Regions from separate parts of the Homo sapiens genome. Here all the other regions are linked to region 1. Evidence: promoter capture Hi-C in human tissues and cell types (Jung and others, 2019). All regions are on one chromosome and are shown on one strand. Each heading gives the region's core, a stretch centred on a gene start or on the middle of the fragment in contact. The rest is flanking DNA. Distances are from core to core; before and after follow the strand shown.

Region 1 (4,966 bases), core at 1,307-3,806:
GCCCAGCCTCACGGGATACCCGGGTTGCTGGCGTGCAGGGCTTTCTGGCACTGACTGCATGTAAAAGTGTCAGCACAGCTGCATGTATGCATGTGTGTACATGTGTCAGTGTGTGCATGTCCCAGTGGCTGTTTCTCTGGGAGCCGAGTCTGTGTGGCCATCTATGTCTGTGTGCACACATGTATGTGCTGCAGGTCTGCAGGCTTCTCTGCTTGCATATCTGAGTAATTATGCCTGTGGTCACATGTATGTTTATGTGCACACATGTCTATGTGTACAGGCATGTGTCTGTGTGTGCACATTCGAGTATATACAGTGCTGTATGCAGGCATTCTGAGAATTATGTACCTGTGTTTGGATATGTCCAGGGATATATTTCTGTGGGGTAATCTGGGCTCTTACATGTGTTTCTGTGTATCTTTGATGTGGAGGCGTATCTTGAGTCTCTACACATCTGTGTGTAACTGTTTCTAGGGCCAGGGTGTGTCTGTGTGAACATGAGTGCCTATACATGCATATGGAGTCTGCGTACTCAAGTGCTGTGCTAGAACTTTACCTGACTGCGTGTTTCTGGATGTGTGCACGTATGTGTGGAAGGGAGGAAGGGGCATGGGCACATTCCTAGACTGTCTATGATAGTGTTTCTAGGCGTAAGGTGTGTCCCAGGCTTGGCTGTTCCTGTGAGCACCCTTGGGGTGCTGTGGGAAGGCATCTGGCTCTCCCTTCTCAGGTTCCTCCATCCCTGGCCCAGCCACCTGCCCTGTCTGGGGCACGGGTGGGAGCTGTCAGGATGGCATGGTGGTTAAGAGCACGTGCTGAGTCTAGGCTGGCTGGACATGAGTTCTGCTCCACCACTGACTAGCTGTGGGATCCCGGGCAAGTTGTGTTTTTCCTGTGCTGCAGGTTTGGGAATAAAAATGGAATTCTGCCTTAAGGCGTTGTTGTAAAGATCGAAGGAGTTAGCATATGTGAAGTTCTCAGCACAGAGCCTGACCTATATGCGCTTCCCACCTCTCCCGAGTGCCCACTGCTGGGGCAGCACCCTCTGGTAGGGCAGGCGGGGCCTGTGCCCACCCACCCCGCAGGCCAGAGTGCTCAGAAGGCCCCACCCCCTCCGCTTCCCGCCTGCTGAGCTCAGCACTTCCCAGGCCCCACCACTGCCACAGCCACATCTGGGGCCAGCTCCTCACTGGGACCACAGTGGGGCGCCTCTGTGGCGTGGTTGGGGTTTCCGCTGACTCAGCGCCTCTGGGTCTGGAGGCGGGAAATCCCAGGCCTGCCCCTACAACCTCCCCCTACCCCGGGTTAGCCGAGGCCACAGGGCTAGGCGCGTTGCTTCCACAGAGCCCCCAGAGCCCCCCTCAACTGGGGACGCTCAGTTTCTCCCTCTTCAGCCCAGCATCTCATGGCCTCTTGAACCTACTTTGTGGATCCTCAGCCTTGGTGCCAATAAATTTGCTTTCGGTCTACAGCGGGAGGAGACCCTTGGTGGGGATTCCACCTTGGTCAACGGCCCTGCCTCTGGGCAGAACTCGGAACATTACCGGCTCCTTCCTCCTCAGAGCTCCAATCTTTCAGCCCAGCTCAATTCCTCTTGCGTCCTTGGACCGTGAATATAAAGCAGGTCCCTCCCCAGTGCTGGTGTAAAGGCTTGAAATCCAGTCCCGTCCCCTGCCAGGGATCACAGTAATAACGATAATAGCAGCAAATATTTACTGAGCTCCTCTCATGTGCCAGACCGTGTGCTAAGCGCTTACAGCCTTTGGCCCATTTCCTGCTTACAGCAAAGGTCTATGAGGCATATACTCTCACGATCCCATCTTCCAGATGAGAAAACGGAGTATGGTTACACAGCACATTTGGAACCGCAAAGCCAGAGCAGGGGCCAGGGATTTGAGCCCTTCCAACCTCATGGAGTAAGGAGGAATAAGGGGACTCCCTCAGTCTCACTTCTCTGGGAGTCAGGCCAGAGCAGAGGGGGTTAATTTAGCACGGAGGAGGGAGGGGGTTCCCACCCTCCTCCTCCCAGTACAGACAGACCTAGGGACAGACTGACTGGGAATGTTAGGCAGAGGAATTGGAAAAAGCTGACCACCGAGGCTTGGGCGGCAGCCACATCATGGGTGCCACGCACTTGGGAGGAGGGTCTCTACCCTGCTCCCTCCACCCCTGTCCCCTCCCCGCCCCCCCACCCCGCAGCCTTCTGGGGGCCCAGCCAGGGACATGGAAAGGGGGAGCTCTTCAAACTCCAGGCCTGACTCTTAAAGGGCCCGCAGGAGCCCCCTTCCAGGGCAGCTCTGGGCACGTAGGGTCCCGCCTAGCTCGAGGATCGCTCACCTGGCGGTGAGGCAGGAGGGGCGGGCCTGGGAGCTCGGCCAGACCCGGGGCGGGGCTGTGCACCCCGCAGTCTAGCCGCCTCTGGTGCCGCTGGAGCCCCCTCTAGGCCCTCCTCCTCCTCCTCCCTGGCGGGCCGGTCCAGCTGTGTTCCATTAGTGTCCCTGGCAGGCCCCCAGCCCCCTGGAACCGCCTCTCTTCCCCCACCCGGAGTGGCCGGCAGTCCCCGGCAGGCGTGCGCCGGGCAGCAGACAGCCGGGAGAGCTCGAGCGCCAGGAAGCTGGGGACCCGTGACCGTCACGGAGAGATAGAGAACCCCTAGCGGACCTGAGGAACCTGGGCTCTGCTTCCTCCGCCTGCTGCCTGGACTGCTCAGTGAGGTGGGGGGATCCCCGGCCACCGGTAAGTAGGGATACAGTGGGCGGCCTCAGGGCTCTGGGCTGAGAGGCCCTTTCTGCCAGACTTGCTGTGTGACCTGAGGAAAGTGGCATTCCCTCTCTGGGCCTTGGTCGTCTTCTCTAGAGCGAGATGAGCTCTAAACTCCATCCTGGTTCTGACTCCCTGCGCCCAAATCTATGCCTCTGTGTTGGGGTGAGCCGTCTCCTTGGAAGCTTCTCTGGCTCTGTCCTTGCAGCCCTGCACTCTGGCTGGAGCCTGAGGAGTGGCGACCAGAGACTAGGAGCCGGAAGGGGACAGGATCACATCCATCCTCACGCCTCCACATGCACCCACATGGCGCCACAGCTGGCAGCCCTTCTATTGGCTGGCAGGAGGAAGACCAGGATAGGGTTTGAGAGCTGGGATGTGTATATCACTAGGATGGGGGATGAATAGGCAGGCTGGGGGCACAGTTCTGTCCCAGGGAGAAGGGGGCTGGAGTCCTATCTCCAAATATATTGGGGTAAGGGGTCCTTTCTGTTTTCATTTCCTATCCATGATTGAGGGAAGGAAAATTGGATTTCATTAGAGTTGGAAGGAATGCAGTCAGACTTGCATTAGAACTTCCCAACAGGAAGACCTACAGGAGGAGTGGTCATAGGCTGGCTGTGCGCATGTGGGTATATGCAAGCTGGTGTGTCTGGGTATATCAGCGAGCATATGTTTCCGTGAGCATGCCTGTGTGCAGATAGCTTTGTATGCACACTGGTACCACATATGTGTCCTTATGTACATGTACCTGCGCATCTGCATGTGCTGTGCTGACACATGCATGGCTCTGTGTTTGTGCACGTGAGCTGCCTGTCCTGGGGGAGGCCAGACGATGTATGGCTCTGCTGGCCACTTGCTGAGCCTGCATCGATTTATCTGGGCCCATCCATCAGGGTTTAATAAAACTAAAAGACAAGCATCCATCAGCTGGGGGCGGGGGTGGCTGGCAATGAGGTCCTGAGCCCTAGAGACCTGCTCTCCTGCCCACTATACCTATGGGGAAAGCTTCCTTGGCCCCCACACAGCCCTATGGAAGGCTGTGGCCCACAATCTCAGCCCAGTCACCAGCCCCTGACCCTGTGGGTGCCTGGGAGGGCTTCCTGGGCTGAGCTGGGTGCGCTAGTAAGGTATCAGGCTGGTATATATACCAGGACAGTGCACAAGATGCTAGACTTGAAATACTTCCACGTGTCTTGAAGAATAGCCTCTTCTTTAAGCCCTCATCACTATTCCAACTTCTCTGGCCTTCTAAGACCTTCTAGACCTCTCCCAATCCAGCAAGTATCCACTGGCACAGCCAGATGCTGCCTGGACACTATTTCAGTGCAGTAGGCAGCTTTCTGCTTTGCCTGAAAGCTGGTATCCGTGCCATACCGGTGGTTAAATATTTTGAATATCGCCTCTGCTCAAATCCTAGCCCAAGGGCTGTGGTTGGGCCTCTGAGAGAGACTGATGCCTGGCCAGACCTCCTGCCACCCCAATACCAGTGCCTGGGCCCCACAGGCTGTCCACGACTTGCCCACGTGTGGAGTTGTGCTGTGTGAACTCAGAAATCCGCCTTCCCGGTCTCTGTGGTTTTCAGGTGCTGTGGCTGTAGCTGACCTCTTTGGACCGGGATGTGGGTATCCTGGGCTCCTGGCCTGTGGCTGCTCGGTCTTTGGGCTACCTTCGGCCATGGGGCAAATACAGGTGAGATGACACAGGAGAGTCACAGTATCACAGGCCTGCAACTGGTATCCTGGGGTGCTGGGGTCCTTGCACATATGTGACCATGTATGTGTGGTCGTGTGGGCAGTTATAGCAGAGTCTAGGGGCTGGGCTCAGGGTGATCTGAGGTGTTGGCACCCTTGAGCCTGTGTGCAGTGAGCTGGAGAGTGTGTGTGCCTGTGTCTTCGTACGTTTATGTCTCTGAGCATCTCTGTGTTTGTCTCTCAGACTGGCTTTGTGCATTCGTATGTATTCCTGTGTCTCTGTGTGTAAGAGAACAACCTCCCACCCCAATACGTAAGCCAATCCTGTGGACACATTGCTGGTAGGACCAGTGGGGTGGGGAGGAACAGGCAGTGAGCTCTCCCTGCAGAAGGACGCCGCCTCCCCAGAGAACCCCAAGTCCTGCTGATCCTTTTCATGGTGGAGACTCCATCCCTCTAGCTCACGTGCTTCTCCTCCTCCACGGCTGGCCCTGAATCTCTAATAAAAGGCC
Region 2 (4,966 bases), core at 1,705-4,204, 340 kb before region 1:
GGCCACACACACAAAAGTTAACATAAAATGAATCATAGACCTAAATGCAAGAATTAAAGCTGGGTGTGGTGGCTTACACCTGTAATCTTAGCACTTTGGGAGGCCGAGGTGGGTGGACTGCCTGAGCTCAGGGGTTCAAGACCAGCCTGGCCTGGCCAACATGGTGAAACCTTGCCTCTACTAAAAAATAAAAAAAATTAGCCAGGCATGATGGCACGCACCTGTAGTACCAGCTACTTGGGAGGGTGAAGCATGAGAACTGCTTGAACCCGGGAGCTGGAGGTTGCAGTGAACTGAGATCATACCACTGCACTCCAGCCTGGGGGACAGAGTCAGACTCTGTCTCCAAAAAACAAACAAACAAACAAACAAACAAAAAGAACTAAAACTAAAAAACTGAGAAAGAAACAAACAGGTACAATCCTGACCTTGAATGAGACAATAGTTTATTACCTATGACAAAAAAGAAAAAAACAGATAAACTGGACTTCAACAAAATGGAAAATTTTGGTGATTTAAAGAAAGTAAAAGGACAACCCACTGAATGGGAGAAAATATTTGCAAATCATACATCTGACAAGAGTTTAGCGTCCAGAATATATAAAGAACTTACAACTCGCTAATAAAAAGACAAATTATCCCATTTAAAAGTGGGCAAAGTATTTAGATAGACATTTTTCCACAGAAGATATATAATTGGCTAACAAGCACATGAAAATATGCTCAATGACATTAGTCATTAGGGAAATGCAAATCAAAACCACAGTGAGGTACCACTTCACACCCACTAAAGATAGCTATAATAAAGTAAATGTTGGTGAGGATATGGAGCATTTGGAACCCTCATATGTTGCTGGTAGGAATGGTACAGGCTCTCTGCAGAAAACAATTTGGCAGTTCCTAAAAAAATTAAACAGGCCGGGCGTGGTGGCTCATGCCTGTAATCCCAGCACTTTGGGAGGCTGAGGCAGGTGGATCATGAGGTCAGGAGATCGAGACCATCCTGGCTAACACGGTGAAACCCCGTCTCTACTAAAAATACAAAGAATTAGCCGGGTGTGGTGGCACGTGCCTATATTCCCAGCTGCTTGGGAGGCTGAGGCAGGAGAATCACTTGAACCCAGGAGGCGGAGGTTGCAGTGAGCTGAGATCGTGCCACTGCACTCCAGCCTGGGCGACAGAGTGAGACTCTGTCTCAAAAAAAAAAAAATAAAAAATAAAAAAATAAACAGAGTCACCGTATGACCCAGAACCCAGAAATTCTTCTAGGTATATACCCAAGAAACTGAAAACATGTCCACACAAAAACTTATATACAAATATTCAAAGCAGTATTATTCATAATAGCCAAAAAGTAGAAATAATCCAAATGCCTGTCAATGGATCAATGAATAAATGAAACGTAGTATATGCATACAGTGAAATCGCATTTAACAGTAAAAAAAAAAAAAAGAACAAAGTAGGGATACATGCTACAACATGGATGAACCTTGAAAACATCCGAAGTGAAAGGAGGCCAGTCAGCTGAGCGTGATGGCTCACGTCTGTAATCCCAAACTTTGGAAGGCCAAGGTAGGCGGATCACCTGAAGTCACGAGTTCGAGACCAGCCTGGCCAACACGGTGAAACCCCACCTCTACCAAAAATACAAAAATTAGCCAGGCATGGAGGCGCGTGCCTATAATCCCAGCTACTCAGGAAGGCAGGAGAATCGCTTGAACCTGGGAGGCGGAGGTTGCAGTTGCAGTGAGCTGAGATCGCACCACTGCACTCCAACCTGAGCGACAGAGCAACACCCCGTCTCAAAAAAAAACCAAAAAAACAAAAAAAAAACAAAAAGGAAGCCAGTCACAGAAGACCACTTATTGTATAATTTCATTTGTATGAAATCATACAGAAAGTGGTCTTCTGTGACTGGCTAAACCCTTGGACTTAGCCTTCTGGAGGCTAAACCCTTGTCATCTTTAGAGACAGAAAGCAGAGTAGTAGCCTACGGCTGGAGGGAATAAATAGATTGGTGGAAGACAGATAAAAGGCATGGGGTTTCTTTTTGGAATGATAAAGACATTTTAAATGGGCCCTAGTGATGACTGAACAACTCTGTATATACTAAAAACCACTGAATTATACACTTTAAGTGAGAGAACAGTATGGTATGTGAATTATATCTCAATAAAGTTGTTATTTTAAAATTCCGCCAAAACTCTAGACTTCTTTGCCACTAGGACAGTTATGTCTGTCCAAAAAGAATCACTTAAAAATGCTAACATGACCTTTAATTTATACTAACAGAAGCTAACCACAGGCTGCAAACTGGTAAGCTAAAGGCCACATCTGGCATGCAGCAAATGTATTTTATTGGGACCAATAGTATTTTAAAAACTTTCTACCCGGGCTGGAGTACAGTGTTGTGATCATAGCATACTGTAACCTTGAACTCCTCGACTCAAGTGATCCTCCTTCCCCTGCCTCCTGAGTAGCTAGGATAAGAGGTGCAAGCCATCATGCCCAGCTAATGCCCAGCTAACTTTTTGTAGAGACAGAGTCTGCTATGTTGTCCCGGCTTGTCTTGAACTCCTGGCCTCAAGTGATCCTCCCAACTCAGCCTCCCCAGGTGTTGGGATTACAGGCATGAGCTGCCATGCGCAGCCAAGAAAATTTTTAGAGAAGGGAAAGACACAGTAATGAAAATGATCTTCAAATACCTGAAAGGATGTTGCTTCAGAGGTCCAAAGCAGATTCAGTTTAAATTACTGAGGTACAGGTCTCATTCAAAATGAGAGATAAAATACTTAGAGCCATCTCTAATGAAATGGGCTGCTTTTGGAAGTAATGTTTCCTATGACTAGTATGAAGTACTATGTTACATGCTATAACCTGGATGAACCAAACACTATGCAAAGTCAAAGAAGCCAATTCCAAAAAGCATATATTATATGATTCCATTTATATGGAATGTTCAGAATAGGCAAACCCACAGAAAGAGTAGTGGCTGCCAACAGCTGGGGAGAGAAGGGAGTTGGGAGTGACTATTAGCAGATATAAGATTTGTTTTTAGAGTGATGGAAATATTCTGGAATTAAATAGTGGAAATGGTTGCACAGTATAAATATACTAAAAACTACTGCATTGTACACTTTAAAATTGTAAATTTTATGCTATGTGAATTTTTCCTCAAAACAGAAACAAAGGTAGAAAGGGACCAAATGAGATACTTACTAACTCTGTTAGGATATTATGATGCATACAGTGATAAATGTCAGGTATTATCATCAACTTCATTTGATGATAAATGAGGCACTGAAAGGGTTTTGTTTCTGACTAAGGTGACAAAGGCTCACATGAAGCAGAGCCAGGACAGATACCCAATCTTGCCTGTCTCTAAAGCTTACAGAATTGTAATAAAAGTTCACAGGCTGGCCGGGTACAGTGGCTCACGCCTGTGATCCTAGCACTTTGGGAGGCTGAGGTGGGCGGATCACTTGAAGCCAGGAGTTCAAGACTAGCCTGGCCAACATGGTGAAACCACATCTCTACTAAAAATACAAAAATTATCCAGGCGTGGTGGTGTGTGCCTATAATCCCAGCTACTCCGGAGGCTGAGGCAGGGGAATCGCTTGAACCCGGGAGGTGGAGGTCGCAGTAAGCTGAAATCACACCACTGCACTCCAGCCTGGGCAACAGAGTGAGACTCCACCTTAAAATAAATAAATAAAGTTCACAGGTAGTGAGTGATAGAATTTTACAGAAAACACTTGGATCAATGGGCGAAGCTACATGTCCAGAACAGGCAGAACACCAGCAGGCCTAGGTCCACAAACAGAACCTGCCTTTCCAAGCACAGTTCACAGTCCAAATGAAAGGTTTCCCCAAACTTCTAATCCATTTTTCTTCTTCAGACTACCCTAGGAAGAGTTGAGACTAAATTCTCTGCATTCAGGGATTCCCCACGCTAAATTTCCTAGCCATTCATGTGACCAACATCAAACGTAGGACTTGCCAGGTGCCCAGAATCTTGTTCAGTACATATGCCCCTCTCTTAAAGCTTCCAGATCTCTCACAGGCTGAGAGGCAGGCTTGGAAGAAAAAGAAATTCCAAGAAGCCAAATTTCACTGTGAAAGGTTCTATATGCGTAGGGCTTACCTAGTTAGGCCTTTCTCCTCAGTGTCATCCTAATCCTAACACCTCAGAGCAGAGAAAAAATCAGCCAGTTAGTTGCTTAATGGCTTCAATTAACAGGAAAGCTCACTGTTGTCACAGCCCCCAACTACACAAACCAGGGAGTCAAACTCCACATCCTTTCTTCTATACCACAATTATCCCTATGAAGGACCTCCTAAGTATAAGAAATATCCTTTCCCAGCCGGGTGTGGTGGCTCACGCCTGTAATCTCAGCACTTTGGGAGGCCAAGGTGGGTGGATCACCTGAGGTCAGGAGTTCGAGACCAGCCTGACCAATAAGGTGAAACCTCGTCTCTACTAAACAATACAAAAATTAGCCAGGCGTGGTGGCAGGTGCCTGTAGTCCCAGGTACTCGGGAGGCTGAGACAGGAGAATTGCTTGAACCCAGAGGCGGAGGTTGCAGTGAGCTGAGATTGCGCCACTGCAGCCAAGCCTGGGTAATGGAGCAGGGCTCCGTCTCAAAAAAAACAAAACAAAAGAAAACCAAAAAAACCAAAAAAAAAAAAGAAATACCCTTTCCCTAGATTAAGGACAGTATAGTATAGGATTAAGATGACAGGTTTTGGCAACAGAAATCTTGAGCTTGAGTACCAGCCATACTAATTATGGGACCCTGGGAAGTTACTTAACTTCACTAGGTCTAAGTTACTTCTGTAAAATATGGATATTACTGGACAATTGTTTCTGGGCTGCCCAGCATCCATTTCCCTTTCCTAACAACTCACCAACTGCCTTTTGAGGAACTGGTTTTTCTTACGCATGTGACTCAGCTAATCCAGTCT
Region 3 (4,966 bases), core at 1,424-3,923, 260 kb before region 1:
CGGGTATGGTGGTACAGGCTGTAGGCCCAGCTAGTCAGGAGGCTGAGGCGGGAGGATCGCTTGAACCCAGGAGATGGAGGTTGCAGTGGGCTGAGATCCTGCCACTGCACTTCAGCCTAGGTGAGAGTGAGACCCTGTGTCAAAAAAAAAAAAAAATTAAAATAAAAAATAGCTTTAGTGATATGTGATTCACATACCGTAAAATTCACTTTTAAAGTATACAAGTCAGTGGGGTTTTTTTGTTGTTCTTCTTTATTCTGAATACAAGTCCCATATCCAATCTATGATTTGTAAATATTTTCTCCCATTCTGTGGGTTATCTTTTCACCATCAGGAGACAGTGTCCTCATAGAATGGAACAACACATGCTGGGGCCTATTGGAAGGTGGAGGTTGGGAGGAGAAAGAGGATCAGGAAAAATAACTAACGGGTACTAGACTTAATACCTGGGTGACAAAATAATTTGTACAACAAACCCCCATGACACAAGTTTACCTATACAACAAACCTGCACATGTAACCCTGAACTTAAAAGTTAAATTAAAAACAAGAGATGGGCTGGGCACACTGGCTCATGCCTGTAATCCCAGCACTGTGGGAGGCTGAAGCAGGTGGATCACCTGAGGTCAGGAGTTCGAGACCTGCCTGATCAACATGGTGAAACCCCGTCTCTACTAAAAGTACAAAAGTTAGCTGGGCGTGGTGGCAGGTGCTTGTAATCCCAGCTACTCGGGAGACTGAGACATGAGAATTGCTTGAACCTGGGAGGCGGAGGTTGCAGTGAGGCAAGATCGCACCATTGTACTCCAACCTGAGCGACAGAGCAAGACTCTGTCTCAAACCAAAAAAAAAAAAAAAAAAAGAGAGAGAGAGATGGTGTCCTTTGAAACACAAAAGTTTTTAATGTTTACAAAGTTCAATTTATCTTTTTTTTGTTTTGTCTGTGCTTTTGAGTATCATATCTAAGAAACTATTGCTTAATCCAATGTCGTGAAGATTGATTCCTATGTTTTCTTCTAAGAGTATTATGCTTTTTTTAGCTCTTACATTTAGGTCTGTTACATTTTTGATCAAATTGTTTATATAGTGTGAACAGGGGTTCATTTTAATTTTTTTTGCATGTGAATATCCAGTTATTGTTTTCATACATTTGTTCAAAATTGACCACAAATGTAAAGGTTTATTTCTGGACTTTCAGTTCTATTCCATTAATCTATATATTTATTCTTTTTTTTTTTTTTTTTTTGAGACAGAGTCTTACTCTGTTGCCCAGGATGGAGTGCAGTGGTATGATCTCAGCTCACTGCAAGCTCCACTTCCCGGGTTCAAGAGATTCTCCCACCTCAGCCTCATGAGTAGCTGGGATTACAGGCATGTGCCACCACACCTGGCTAATTTTTGTATTTTTAGTAGAGATGGGGTTTTGCCATGTTGGCCCGGCTGGTCTCGAACTCCTGACCTCAGATGATCTGCCCCACCCTCGGCCTCCCACAGTGCAGGGATTACAGGCGTGAGCTACCACGCCTGGCCTATATATTTATTCTTATGTCAGTACCATATTGTCTTTATCACTTTGGCTATGTATAAATTTTGAAATCAGTGAGTTCTCCAACTATTTTTTTTCAAGATTATTTTGACTATTCTGTGTCCCTTGCATTTCCATATGAATTTTAGGATCAGCTTGGTAATTTCTGCAAAAAACAAAAACAAAAACAAAAAAAACCCAAAAAAACACCAGCTGAAATTTTGATAGGAATTGCACTGAAAATGTAGATCAGTTTGGGGAGTATTGCCATCTTACTCCCCAGAATGCCATCTGTTCATTCCAATATAGGAACACGGGATGTCTTCCCATTTATTTAGGTCTTATTAAATTTCTTTCAACAGGCCAGGAGCGGAGGCTCACGCCTCTAATCCTAGCACTTTAGGAGGTGGAGGCGAGAGGAGCATTTGAGCCCAGGAGTTTAAGACCAGCCTGGGCAACATAGTGAGACTTTGTTTCTACAAAAAATGAAAAAAATTAGCCAGGTTTGGTGGTATACACCTGTAGTCCCAGCTACTTGTGAGGCTGAGGCTGGAGAATCTCTTGAGCTTGGGAGTTAGAGGCTGCAGTGAGCTGTGATAGCACCACTGCACTCCAGCCAGGGCAACAGAATAAGACTCTCTCTATAAAACCAACCAACCAACCAACCAACCAACCAACCAAACGAACAAACAAACAAACAAAAAAAACAGACGCAAAGTCTTTTAACATTTTTATAGTTTTCAGTGTCTGAATCTTGTTATTTATTTATTTATATTTGAGACAGAGCCTTGCTCTGTCGCCCCAGCTGCAGTGCAGTGGTGCAATCTTGGCTCACTGCAGCCTCAACTTCCCATGCTCAAGCCATCCTCCGCCGCAGCCTCCCAAGTAGCTGAGACTACAGGAGTGCACATCCAGGTAATTTTTTTTTTTTTTAGACGGAGTCTTGCTCTGTTGCCTAAGCTAGAGTGCAGTGGCACGATCTCGGCTCACTGAAAGCTCTGCCATCCGGGTTTCATTCTCCTGCCTCAGTCTCCTGAGTAGCTGGGACTACAGGCGCCCACCACCACACCCAGCTAATTTTGTGTATTTTTAATAGAGACAGGGTTTCACCATGTTAGCCAGGATGGTCTCGATCTCCTGACCTCGTGATCCATCCGCCTCGGCCTCCCAAAGTGCTGGGATTACGGGGGTGAGCCACTGTGCCCAGCCCATGCCCAGCTAATTTTTAAATTTTTTTTGTAGCTACGAGGTCTCACTGTATCACCCATGCTGATCTTGAACTCCTGGCCTCAAGCGATCTGCCCACCTCAGCCTCCCAAAGGGCTGGGATTACAGACATAAGTCACCGTGCCTATCCAAGTCTTGTATAATACTTCTTTTGTTAAATTTCCTCCTATGTATATTATTCTTCTTGATGATATTGTAAATAAAAATTATTTTCTCAATTTCATTTTCAGATTGTTCATTGCCAGTGTATAAAAATTCAACTGATTTTTGTGTATTGATCTTGTATCCTGCAACCTCACCAAACTCATTTATTAGTTCTAATAGTATTTTGTGAACTCCTTAGGATTTTCTATATTCGAGATCATGTCATCTGCAAATACAATTTTACTCCAATCTGGATGCCACTGCAACCTCTGCCTCCCAAGTTCAAGTGATTCTCCTGTCTAAGCCTCCTGAGTAGCTGGGATTACAGGCACCTGCCACCACGCCCATCTAATTTTTGTATTTTTAGTAGAGATGGGGTTTCACCATGTTGGCCAGGCTGATGTCGACCTCCTGACCTCAAGTGATCTGCCCACCTCAGCCTCCCAAAGTGCTGGGATTATAGGCGTGAGGCACTGCACCCAGCTCCCAAAAGCTTCTTTAATCTTCATAATACCATGAGGTTGATGTTACTAATCCTATTTTTTTTTTTTTTTGAGATGGAGTTTCACTCTGTTGCCCAGGCTGGAATGTAGTGGCATGATCTCGGCTCACTGCAACATCTGCCTCCTGGGTTCAAGCAATTCTTCTGCCTCAGCCTCCCAAGTAGCTGGGATTACAGGCGTGTGCCACCATGTCCAGCTAATTTTTGTATTTTTAGTAGAGACATGGTTTCACCATGTTGGCCAGGCTGGTCTCGAACCCCTGACCTTGTGATCTGCCTGCCTCAGCCTCCCAAACTGCTGGGATTACAAGCATGAGCCACCATGCCTGGCCACTAATCCTATTTTAGGAATGAGAAAATTGAAGTTCGAAGTAGTTAAGTGATTTACTTAAGGTCATATAATTGGTAAGTCTCAGAGTCTAGATTTGAACCCAAGTCTTTCTGATTCCATTATATCCAAAGGTCTTTTGAAATACATTTTAAATTTTAAATAAATTTTACCTTGAAAATGTAATAATGTGCATGATAAAGAATTTAATAGTACAGGCTGGGTGCGGTGGCTCATGCCTAAAATCCCAGCACTTTGGGAGGCCGAGGCGGGTGGATCACGAGGTCAGGAGATCGAGACCATCCTGGCTAACACGGTGAAACCCTGTCTCTCCAAAAAAATACACAAAATTAGCTGGGTGTGGTGGCAGGCGCCTGTAGTCCCAGCTACTTGGGAGGCTGAGGCAGGAGAATGGCATGAACCCGGGAGGCGGAGCTTGCAGTGAGCCAAGATCGCGCCACTGTACTCCAGCATGGGTGACAGAGCGAGACTCTGTCTCAAAAAAAAAAAAAAAAAAAAGAAGAGAATTTAATAGTACATAAGGATATCCAGTAGGAATTAGTTCTCCTTCCTACTGCCATGCCCTCTTTCCTCCATTCTCAGAGGCAGTCATTATTGGAGGTGTTTCCTTCCAATGTGTTCTATACATACCTAAATAGATATATCTACATCTATACAAATTCTTATTTTAAACAGACACATAAACTTATTTTTTTCTTTTAAAAACAATCTTAACAATGAATCTTGAAGATTATTCCATACCAACACATCCAGATAGATTTATCTGTCATTTTTTTTTTTTTGAGAGGGAGTTTTGCTCTTGTTGCCCAGGCTGGAGTGCAATGGCATAATCTTGGCTCACTGCCACCTCTGCCTCCCAGGTTCAAGCAATTCTCCTGCCTTGGCCTCCCAAGTAGCTGGGACTACAGGCGCCCACTACCACGCCCAGCTAAGTTTTGTATTTTTAGTAGAGACGGGGTTTCGCCATGTTCGCCAGGCTGGTCTCGATCTCTTGAGCTCAAGTGATCTGCCTGCTTTGGCCTCCCAAAGTGCTGGGATTACAGGTGTGAGCCACTGTGCCCAGCCTCATTTTTTTTTTTTTTAGAGTCTTACTCTGTCACCCAAGCTGGAGTGCAGTGGCGTGATCAGAGCTCACTGCAGTGTCAACCTCCTAGCCTCAAGCGATCCTCCCACCTTAGCCTCCTGAGTAGCTGGGACTACCGGTGCACACCACCGCACC

The links. Contacts are between HindIII fragments. The study calls those that stand out against the background at their distance.
Region 2: a fragment that was not itself captured here is called in contact with the fragment with the promoter of COL16A1 in region 1 in 1 of the 25 tissues and cell types used here (spleen).
Region 3: a contact is called between a fragment that was not itself captured here and the fragment with the promoter of COL16A1 in region 1, in 1 of the 25 tissues and cell types used here (IMR-90 fibroblasts).

What each region holds. Positions count from the first base shown.
Region 1 is chr1:31,701,607-31,706,572 of GRCh38, reverse strand. COL16A1 (collagen type XVI alpha 1 chain) reads left to right here and starts at 2,556. Exons shown (of 71, transcript NM_001856.4): 1 at 2,556-2,736; 2 at 4,346-4,452. The coding sequence starts at 4,380. RefSeq lists a silencer at 1,086-1,135 and an enhancer at 4,445-4,966. The HindIII fragment of the contact is 8,325 bases long and covers 1-3,357 here.
Region 2 is chr1:32,045,911-32,050,876 of GRCh38, reverse strand. It overlaps a transcript of KHDRBS1 not described here. Among named protein-coding and RNA genes, the nearest start is that of TMEM39B, 25 kb to the left of the region's middle. The HindIII fragment of the contact is 3,894 bases long and covers 1,008-4,901 here.
Region 3 is chr1:31,965,670-31,970,635 of GRCh38, reverse strand. No RefSeq gene overlaps it. Among named protein-coding and RNA genes, the nearest start is that of PTP4A2, 30 kb to the right of the region's middle. The HindIII fragment of the contact is 5,460 bases long and covers 1-4,966 here.